Regions from separate parts of the Homo sapiens genome. Here all the other regions are linked to region 3. Evidence: promoter capture Hi-C in 16 types of primary human blood cells and fetal thymus (Javierre and others, 2016). All regions are on one chromosome and are shown on one strand. Each heading gives the region's core, a stretch centred on a gene start or on the middle of the fragment in contact. The rest is flanking DNA. Distances are from core to core; before and after follow the strand shown. Region 1 has its middle 64 kb from the start of BICD1. Region 2 has its middle 40 kb from the start of LINC02422. Region 3 holds the start of RESF1 (retroelement silencing factor 1).

The links. The method cuts DNA at HindIII sites, captures the fragments that hold promoters and counts their contacts. A CHiCAGO score of 5 or more calls a contact.
Region 1: a fragment that was not itself captured here is called in contact with the fragment with the promoter of RESF1 in region 3 in 2 of 17 cell types (erythroblasts and naive CD4 T cells); the score reaches 7.7 in erythroblasts.
Region 2: a contact is called between a fragment that was not itself captured here and the fragment with the promoter of RESF1 in region 3, in 4 of 17 cell types (neutrophils, non-activated CD4 T cells, total CD8 T cells and 1 more). The highest score is 10.9, in neutrophils.

What each region holds. Positions count from the first base shown.
Region 1 is chr12:32,040,844-32,044,328 of GRCh38, reverse strand. No RefSeq gene overlaps it. Among named protein-coding and RNA genes, the nearest start is that of BICD1, 64 kb to the left of the region's middle. RefSeq lists a silencer at 267-467. The HindIII fragment of the contact is 3,737 bases long and covers 328-3,485 here.
Region 2 is chr12:31,845,192-31,848,632 of GRCh38, reverse strand. No RefSeq gene overlaps it. Among named protein-coding and RNA genes, the nearest start is that of LINC02422, 40 kb to the left of the region's middle. The HindIII fragment of the contact is 8,229 bases long and covers 1-3,441 here.
Region 3 is chr12:31,957,844-31,961,507 of GRCh38, reverse strand. It overlaps RESF1 (retroelement silencing factor 1), which reads right to left and starts at 2,093. Exons shown (of 6, transcript NM_018169.4): 1 at 2,017-2,093; 2 at 637-731. LOC105369725 (a long non-coding RNA gene) reads left to right here and starts at 2,204. Exons shown (of 2, transcript XR_931503.2): 1 at 2,204-2,380; 2 at 2,704-3,015. RefSeq lists a silencer at 1,783-2,122 and an enhancer at 3,175-3,664. The HindIII fragment of the contact is 2,403 bases long and covers 479-2,881 here.

The sequences.
Region 1 (3,485 bases), core at 947-3,446, 83 kb before region 3:
ACCTAGTAACGGACTCTTCACCTAATAGACCCTATTCAATTTTAAACCTTAGCCAATCGAGTTAGCTTAGATTGTGAGGTCCAACCCCAGCCAATGGGGAAAGGACACAGAAGTGCTAGGAACTGCATTAGAGATAAAAACCCCTTTCCTACCCTGCTCGGTGTGCTCTTGCGATAATGACTGGCGCAAGCTGCACCCTTCTGCAGAAGAAAATTTGCCTTGCTGAGAAATCTTGTGTTTGAGTGCTCATTTTCTTTACGACTCTGAGCTTTTATTTCTAACAGAACAAGGTGCCAGTGTCTGTTTCTGGGGAAGCCTCAGGAAGCTTCCAATCATGGTGGAAGGCAAGGAGAGCCAGTGTGTCACATGGCGAGAGATTTTAACAATCAGATTGCACATTAACTAATAGAGCAAGAACTCATTCATTACTGTAAGGAGGGCATCAAGCCATTCATGAGGGATCTGTCCCCATGACCCAAACATCTCCTACTAGGCCCCACTTCCAACACTGGGGGTCACATTTCAATTTGAGATTTGGAGGGGACAAATATTCAAACTATATTAAGTAGTATGGACTCAATCCAATATGACTGCTGTCCTTATGAGAAGCAGAGAAGAGACACGGAGACAGACCCAGGAAGAATGCTATGAGGCAATGGAGACAGTGATTAAAGTGCTGTATCAACAAGCATTTACTGGCAACACCAGAAGCTAAAAGTAAGGCATGGAACAGATTTCTTCCCTGGAGCCTTCAGAAGGAGCATGGCCCTGCCAAGACCTTGATTTTGGACCTCTGACTTCCAGAACTGTAAGATAATACATTTTCTGTTTTTTTAACCCACCCAGTTTGTGGTGCTTTGTTATGGCAGCTCTAGAAAGCTAATATAGAGTCCCTATGAACGTTTTGGAAAATTGTGGCGCGATCAACAAAAGGGGCTGGGCACAGTGGCTCACGCCTATAATCCCAGCATTTTGGGAGGCTGAGGCCAGAGGATCACTTGAACCCAGGTGTTTGAAATAAGCCTGAGCAACATAGTGAGACCCTGTCTATACAAAAAATACAAAAATTAAGGCTGGGTGCAGTGGCTCATGCCTGTAATCCCAGCACTTTGGGAGGCCAAGGTGGGTGGATTACCTGAGATCAGGAGTTCACGACCAGCCTGGCCAACATGGTGAAACCCCATCTTTACTAAAAATACAAAAAATTGGCCAGGAGTGGTGGCTCACGCCTATAATCCCAGAATTTTGGGAGGTTGAGGTAGGTGGATCACCTGAGGTCAGAAGTTCAAGACCAGCCTGACCAACACGGTAAAACCCCATCTGTACTAAAAATACAAAATTAGCCAGGCGTGGTGGTGGGCACCTGTATTCCCTGTTACTCAGGAGGCTGAGGCAGGAGAATTGCTTGAACCCAGGAGGAGGAGGTTGCCACTGCACTCCAGCCTGGGTGACAGAGTGAGACTCTGTCTCAAAAAATAAAAATAAAAATAAAAATAATTAGTTGGGTGTGGTGGCCTGAGCTTGTAGTCCCAGCTACTCTGGAGGCTGAGGTAAGAGAATCGCTTGAGCCCAGGAGGCAGAGGTTGCAGTGAGCTGAGATTGCACCACTGCACTCCAGCCTGGGTGACAGGGCGAGACTCTGTCTCAAAAAAAAAAGAACAAAAATTAGCTGGGTGTGGTGGAGCACGTGTGTAGTCCAGCTACTCAGAAGGCTGAGGTGGGAGGATCACTGGAGCCTGGGAGGTCAAAGCTGCAGTAAGCCATGATCACGCCACTGCCCTCAAGCCTGGGTGACATAGTAAGACCCTGTCTTAAAAAACAAAACACGAAACAGGCTTGGTGCGGTGGCTCACGCCTGTAATCCCAGCGCTTTGGGAGGCCGAGGCAGTTGGATGGCTTCAGCTCAAGAGTTCAAGACCAACCTAGGAAACAAGGTGAAACTCTGTCTCTACAAAGAATTCAAAAATCTAGCCAGGCATGGTGGTACACTTCTGTAGTCCCAGCTACTCAGGAGGCTAAAGCTGGAGGATCGATTGAGCCAGGAGGTAGTGGCTGCAGTGAGCCACGATCATGCCACTGTGCTCCAGCCTGGGCAACAGAACAAGACACTGTCTCAAAACCAAAAAACAACAAACAACAACAAAAGGGGTGCAATAGGCCAGGTGCTGTGGCTCATACCTATAATCCTAGCACCATGGGAGGCCGAGGCAGGAGGAGCCCTTGAAGCCAGGAGTTCAAGGCCAGCCTGGACAACAAAGCAAGACCCTGTCTCTACCAAATAAACCAAAAGACAAAAAAACAAAATGAAACAAAACAAAAGGGGTGCAACACAGGACCACTGGTGGTGTCAAAGGAAAAATTGCACTGAACAACGTTGAAACTTTAGGCAAAGTTAAACTGCAGGAGGGGAGAGGGCCAGAACTAAGTATGAACTAAACTGCTCATCAGAAGGGATAGGTTTTGTTTGTTTGTTTGTTTGTTTGTTTGTTTTTGAGGCGGAGTCTCTCTCTGTCGCCCAGGTGGAGTGCAGTGGCGGGATCTCGGCTCAGTGCAACCTCTGCCTCCCGGGTTCAAGTGATTCTCCTGCCTCTGCCTCCAGAGTAGCTGGGACTACAGGTGCCCACCACCACGCCCAGCTAATTTTTTGTATTTTTAGTAGAGACGGGGTTTCACTGTGTTAGCCAGGTTGACGTCGATCTCCTGACCTCGTGATCTGCCTGCCTCTGCCTCCCAAAGTGCTGGGATTGCAGGCATGAGCCACCGCACCCGGCCCAGAAGGGATAGGTTTTAAAGGATTGGGTGAATTAGTACTGAAGGACATAAGGGAAGTCACAGGCCATTTGTGTTTGCCGTTGGCTTTTTATAATTTGATGTCTTTATGGGGTACGGAGTGATGTTGTAATATATGTAAACAATGTGAAATTATTAAATCAAGCTAATTAACATACCCATTACCTCAATACTCATCTTTTTTTTTTTTTATTTTTTTAGAGAGACAAGTTTTCACTCTGTTGCCCAGATTGGAGTGCAGTGGCACCATTATAGCTTACTGTAACTTTGAACTCCTGGGCTCAAGCCATCCTCCCACCTCAGCCTCCTGAGTAGCTAAGACTACAGGCACACACCATCACGTCTGTCTAATTTTTTTAATTTTCTATAGAGACAGGGTTTCACTATGTTGCCTAGGCTGGCCTTGAACTCCTGGCCTCAAGTGATCTGCCTGCCTTGGCATCCCAAAACTCTGGGATAACAGGTGTGAGCCACCATGCCCAGCCAATACTCATCATTTTTTTGGTAGGAAGAGCATTTGAAATGTATTCACTTAGCATTTTTGGAATATACAGTACATTATTATTAACTATAGTTCTCATACTGTGCAATAGATCTCAAAAAAATATTCCTCCTGTCTAACTGAAATGTTGTACCCATTGACCAACATTTCCCCATTTCCTCGCTCCCAGCCCCTGGTAACCACCATTTTATTC
Region 2 (3,441 bases), core at 529-3,028, 110 kb after region 3:
ATCATTAATCCAACCTCTGACCAGAGAGTTTTGACTTGTGATCTCTGGGAAAGATGGTTACCCTGAGTAATAGAAAAAATAAGAAAGGGAAAGGAGAGAGAGAAAAGCCTTGCCTGTGGCAGGATGGGGAAGGTGAAGATCTCAGGGAGTTGAGAGAAAGACCCACCCATTCCAGCAACACTGAATCAAAAGTTCAGGTGGCCGCTTGTCAGCTGTGAAGGGATATTTTTCAGCAGTCCCATCAGCTCTCAAGTTTCCCCTTTTAGGGAAGAAAAAGCTCCCCATGTCCCACGATCCTGTTCATGCCTAATCCTGTCACCCATAGCTGTCAGCAAAGAGTGCAAGGCAGATTATTTGAAAGAGAATAGCAGTTAATAGTGTCAAACCCATTCTTAGCCAAGAAGGACTTTACTGAGAGAGGCCTCTAACTCCCTAAATCTTAGAAGGGATAACTCTTCTAATTTGGGCCTCTAACCCAAGGTTGGTTAAGCGTTCTTGCCTTTTATTAAGATGAGTCTCTAACCCACTCTGTTTCAGGAGAGACTCTAACTCCCCTAAGTTGCACCTCTAACCCAATCCCATCCTTTACTTGGGTACCCCAATTACCCAAAGTTGGCCAATTAGTGCTGCAGTCTGTTTCCTTTGGGTTGAGAAGTATTTTCAGTATTGTCCCACTTGTGGTTCATGAGAAAGATGTTATCAGACCCCAACACTTAACCAAAGTTAGCCTTTGAGTTGGGAGTTTCCACACTATAGTCCCCTCTGGGTCGTCAGAAAGATGTTACTGGAAAGGGGTTCCAATCCAGACCCCAAGAGAGTGTTCTTAGATCTTGCACAAGAAAGAATTCAGGGCACATTCATAGAATAAAGTTAAAGCAAGTTTATTAAGAAAGTAAAGGAATAAAAGAATACTCCATAGACAGAGCAGCCGGCTGCTGGTTGCCCATTTTTATGGTTATTTCTTGACGATATGCTAAACAAGGGGTGGATTATTCATGCCTCCCCTTTTTAGGGCCGGGCACGGTGGCTCATGCCTGTAATCCCGCACTTTGGGAGGCCAAAGCAGGCGGATCATGAGGTCAGGAGATCGAGACCATCCTGGCTAACATGGTGAAACCCGTCACTACTAAAAATACAAAAATTAGCCAGGCATGGTGGTGGGCGCCTGTAGTCCCAGCTACTCTGGAGGCTGAGGCAGGAGAATGGTGTGAACCCAGGAGTTAGAGCTTGCAGTGAGCCGAGATTGCGCCACTGCACTCCAGCCTGGGTGACAGAGCAAGACTCCGTCTCAAAAAAAAAAACAAAACAAAACAATAACAACAACAACAAAACACATACATACCAAAACCAAATGGCTTACAACAAGAATTCCTTTTTTTTTTTTTTTTTAGGAGTCTTGCTCTGTTGCCCAGGCTGGAGTGCAGTGGCGTGATCTCAGCTCACTTCAGCCTCTGCCTCCCGAGTAGCTGGGATTATAGCATGCACCAACATGCCCAGGTAATTTAAGAATTTATTTTTCTTTTATTTTGAGATGGAGTTTCACTCTTGTTGCCCAGGCTGGAATGCAATGGTGCCATCTCAGCTCACCACAACTTCTTCCTCCTGGGTTCAAGCGATTCCCCTGCCTCAGCCTCCCGAGTAGCTGGGATTACAGGCATGCACCACCCGCCTGGCTAATTTTGTATTTTTAGCAGAGATGGAGTTTTTCCATGTTTGTCAGGCTGGTCTCGAATTCCTGACCTCAGGTGATCCACCTGCCTCAACCTCCCAAAGTGCTAGGATTACAGGCATGAGCCACCATGCCTGGCCAAGAATTTATTTATCTTACTGGCAGATCTGCAGGTCAGCTGATAATTGTGCCTCAGACTGACACTCAGATGCCTAGGCTCTGGGGTTCAGGTTGTGCTCATATCTGTTTCCTGAGTCTTATTCTGGGACCCAGGCTGAAGAAGCAGTGCTGGTGGGACATGTTGTTCTTATGAACAATGGCAGGACTAGGAGAGCTATGTCAAACCAAGAGCCAAGTCAAACATATTCAAGGTCTCTCTCCTGTCTTTCCATTAGTAGTACATTTGCCAGAGCAAGTCACAGGGCCAGGCCCAAGAAGTATAATCTTCCCACAGTAGAAGGGAGAGGGGAGTGGATATTCATTGAACAATAAGCCAAACTACTGATCAACCTATCAATCATGCTCATGTTATTAGGTTGGTGTACAGATCTTACATTGGTATTTTGGTTGTACTTACATCGATGTTATCCATACACAAGAAATTACATATATATTCTCTCTTCACTCCCTTTTCAACACATAAGGTAACATTCAATACAAATACCTAATGTAACAGGTCATCTTTAAAATAAATTGTTTCCTGCCAGCAGAGGTGTGCTAAATCATCATCATCATCATCATCATCATCATCATAATTTATGAGAGATTTGGGGCTTTCCCACCTTCTTCTTTAATTCAAGATTGCTGTCCCATACATCATCGATAATTATGCTTTCTGCTGACATAGTCAGATTCAACACTTTAAGTTTGTCACACACATTGTTTTGATATTGAGTGCTTGATTTGGAAATTCTTACAACTGAAAGTGTTGGAAAGGATGAGATTTTTAAAAGGAAAATGAAGGGGAATGTCCAAAAGGAGAAGTTTAAGGGAAAAAAAACTTCAGAGACATTGAGACGACTGTCTGTGAATCTTCAGCACTCCTACATGTTTCGCTCCTGTGTGCCAGGATTATCTTTCTAGGAATGCCTAGTGCAAGCAGGCAGCCCTGGAGAGATAAAGACAAGGACTTCCCCTGAAGCAAATGTATTTACATTCCTAGATAAATAAAGATCAAAACGGTAACTTTCACCGAGAGATTTACAGACATCTTTCCCCAGAAATATTTGCTCACATTCCAGTGTAGAATGTTTCTCTCTGGAAGGGAGGATGGGCAGATTTTCCTGCAGCCCTATGCAAAATGTGAGCCTCCTAAACTCAGACTTCGCCTCCTGTATTGCACCTGAAAGCACCTGTAAGTACCATCTGGCCCTCCCTATGTTGCCTTATGGGAATTGGGGCTCAGGGAACCCAAGCTCTGAAGTCACCTTGGCTGCTGCTTTTACTGTGAATACACGTCTTTGTCTCTGACTCAGAGATCTCCTGTTTTCTAACACGATGTATATAAAAATTTGTGGGCCAGGCGTGGTGGCTCATGTCTGTAATTCCAGCACTTTGGAAGGCCGAGGTGGCTGGATCACCTGAGGTCAAGAGTTCGAGACCAGCCTGGCCAGCATGGTGAAACCTCATCTCTACTAAAAATACAGAAAATTAGTCGGGCATGGTGGCAGACGCCTGTAATCCCAGCTTCTCTGGAGGCTGAGGCAGGAGAATTCCTTGAACCCAGGAGGTGGAGGTTGCAGTGAGCCGAGATCACTGCATTGCACTCCAGC
Region 3 (3,664 bases), core at 844-3,343:
AGCTGTTTAACTGTGATATGCATGAAACTCATGTAACTCTACCATAACAATCCTATGACATTAGTGCTTGTCCCCATTTTATAGATGAGAGAACAGGCAGAGGTTTATTTTCCAGGGTTGGCTGAGTGCTACAGCCAAGATCTGAACCAAAGCAGTGTGGTTACAGGGACCATGGTCTTAATCATTAGGTGAGACTTCCTAACACACTTTGTGGTTACAGATGAAAGCCCTGGACATGATCACTTTGGCTGCACGGGAAGCATCCTCCCAGAGTGGTGCTCTGCGCCACATTCCCCTATGTGCCACCAACAGTAATAAAATATAATAAAAACAATCAAATAAACACAGCACAGACAGAAGCAGACCTCTGCCCAGGTAACTTCCACCACAATTCCCTTACCAAAGACCTCTTTCCTTATTTTGCTAAGATTAACAACTGATTTTTCAGTACTATGCCAACAACATTTCTTCTCAAGCTTTGCTGTCAATTCCATTGTGACCCACAGTTTAATTTAAAACCGATGTTGATTCACTGAGCTAGTAATTTTATTCGGTAATAGGTGAATTACTCCATAGTTGAGTGTGAATAACCGCCTGGTTAAATCAGGGCGGGTTTCTTAGAGGTGATACACTTACCGTTGAGCACAACTTTACTCTTTAATTATCGTGTACATTCCCATTTCCCTCCAAACACGTCAGTCCCTCTCCACACAGTGTTTACTTCTTTGGTCCTAGGGACAGCAAGAAACATTTTATAATAAAAGAGCACATGCTAATGTGTTTACTAGATATGACACTGCTGTGCAAAACTGTTTTCTTTTATGGCTGCACTGAAAGCATGCTAAGTTTACTGAATTCTTATTAAGTGTCCTAAGTAACAGAAATAGAAACTAGGTCTGGCCTGAAAATACCATTCACTTAAGTTAGAATTTATGTGCGCTCCTCTAGGTCCGCTATTGTAGTATCACTGCAAAACAATAATACTTTATCTCTGCACTTGTCTTTATTGGATTAATATTAAACAGAAAAAAATCCGACTGCACAGGGGAAAAAACCTAAAACCTTAACATGCATGCACATTAACAGTGACTGAAACATGATTAAAGCTAACACATTTAGCAGAAAAATGCAATCCCCAAACAAGCTCTGCGGCCCGCCTACTGAAATGCACCCGCCCGCCACTAAATGAAAATGCGCCTCAAGCTCATACACATCCTTATGTTAAGACAGTATGCACTCGATGTACTACAAATAAATTGTTTTCACGGAAATGATTCCCCGAAAGTTTGCTGCTGAACTCAGGACCCTAAGGACGTTTGCTTAGGGAATCCGTGTCCCTCGAGAACACCTAAGATGGGTATGCGTTTGTGCATTTAAAAATGCCTCAAGGAACTATTGCTGAGGAACAGAAACCATCGCCGGCGCAGAAGCGTTCGCGGACCACTTGGAGATAGATGCCAGTACAGCAATTCTGTTCCAGGAGGCTTCGGCTTAAGAGGGCCGGGGAGGAGGAGAACCCTCGGGAAATAGCAAAAAAAAAAAAAGATTTTTCTTTTTCACTCCAGCGACAGGAAAGCCTTAAAAACATAAGCAGCTCTCATACCCACCCGCCTCACCAGCCGCGCCTCGCAGTTCGACAAAATGCGTCCTAGCCTTCGCCACTCGCGACCTCTACCGCGCAGAGCCAGGCAATGAGGGAAAACAGCCAGCGAGGCCCGCCCTCCGGTGCAAGGCTCGGCATCCGCGGAGGCCCAGGGCCGGCCCCGGTGCGGCGGGCAGAAGCAAGCGCGGCGGCCCGGCCCAGCTCCGGTGGGCGGACGGCGGGACGCGCGAGCCGGCGGGGCCCGAGGCCCGGGTTCCGGGGCCGCCCGCGACTGCGTCTTTGCCGCAGAACAAAAGCGCTCTGCGCCGCGCGCAGGCCCGGACCGCGAGTGCCTCTGGCTCCCGGCTCCCGGCCCCCGCCCCGCCCGGACCCCGGAAGGCGGAGGGACCTCGGGGTGCTCGTCTCACACTTACCGACAAAGGGAAGAGGACCACCCCGGCAAGCGGGGAGAAAACCGGCGGCCTCCCGGGCCCCAGAGTTTAAGTCAAGTGGGGTCCGCCTCCAGGGGCGGGTCGAGGAGCCAGGCCCAGGATCCAGGAACAGCTACGCTCCGCCTCACGCCCGAGGCGGTGGCTGCGAGGGCCGCGCCGCCGCGGTCCTAGTGCCACCAGAGAAGCCGCGGACCCGGCCCGCAGATAACACCCGGGCTTGCAGAGCGCTTTCATCTGCCCGACGCGGAAATCTCCTGCAGCGATCTTCTACCTTCAGCGTGCATCCGCAGCACCCAGAGGGCACGTTAAAGAGAGATTGAGAACCACCAGCAAAACTGCTGATTCAGTAGGTTTGGGGTGGGGCTGAAAAATGTGCATTTCTAACAAGTTCCTGAGACCGACTGTTGCTGCTGGCCTCAGGACCAATTTTTTCTATAAAGCGCATGGAAGTCAGAGTGCACCCAAGAGATTGTTAACCCTTAAAAAACAGAAAAAAAAAAAAGAAATCAACAAGTTAGAGGCAAATAAGTGTGAAAGAAAGTGGATAGTCTATTTGGGGATTCTGAAAGTCCCTGAGGAAAGTTGACTTTGGAGACCAGATCACGAAGCACGACCTCTTAATTGCCGACCTTTTGTTATAGATTAACTCCCTTATTTTCTTGTTCCCAGCTCAGACCAGATGGCATCTGAGATAAAATACGCATTGAATAAGATAAATGACCGCTTGACTATTACATCCTTAATGTGGAATGTTAAATAGACCCTTCCCAAAAAGAAACACTGCCTTGAACCAATCAAATTGCTATGCGTTAACCTTCTATGGAAAATGTTGACATCCTGTTAAGCTTCCCAGACCCTGCCTGTGTAAACGACCCTCAAACTTCTCCCTTTCGAAGCACTGACCCCCATCTTTTGGAGTCTGTGTCCTACCGGGTCGCCATCCTCAAACTTTGCACTCAAATAAACCAATATTTAATCATATTGCCCGAATCTCATTATTAAGGTTTACGTAAGCGTTTACTTAGTAATGAAGGTTGCAACCAGGATGGCAAATCAGAGATTGTGCCACTGGAGAGGGGCAAGGGAGCTTATGTTTATAGGAATTTATTTGTTACATAAATTGTCAGATTAGTTCATTGGTGAATTAAACGAAGAAGTCTTTAGTCATTACTAGAAGAGTGCGTTTGCGTCTGTCAGAAACAAAACAAAAAAACTACATACAGAATATTCTTTCTTTTTTGGGGGGGGGACGGAGTCACGCTCTGTCGCCCAGGCTGGAGTGCAGTGGCACGATCTCGGCTCACTGCAAGCTCCGCCTCCCAGGTTCACGCCATTCTGCTGCCTCAGCCTCCCAAGTAGCTGGGACTACAGGCGCCCGCCACCATGCCCGGCTAATTTTTTGTATTTTAGTAGAGACGGGGTTTCACCATGTTAGCCAGGATGGTCTCGATCTCCTGACCTCTTGATCCGCCCGCCTTAGCCTCCCAAAGTGCTGGGATTACAGGCATGAGCCACCGCGCCCGGCCAGAATATTCTTAAAGATTGGGGGTGGCCAGGTGTGGTGGCTCAGGCCTGTAACCCCAGCACTTTGTGTCACGCGCATCCGTGTGAAGAGACCACCAAACAAGCT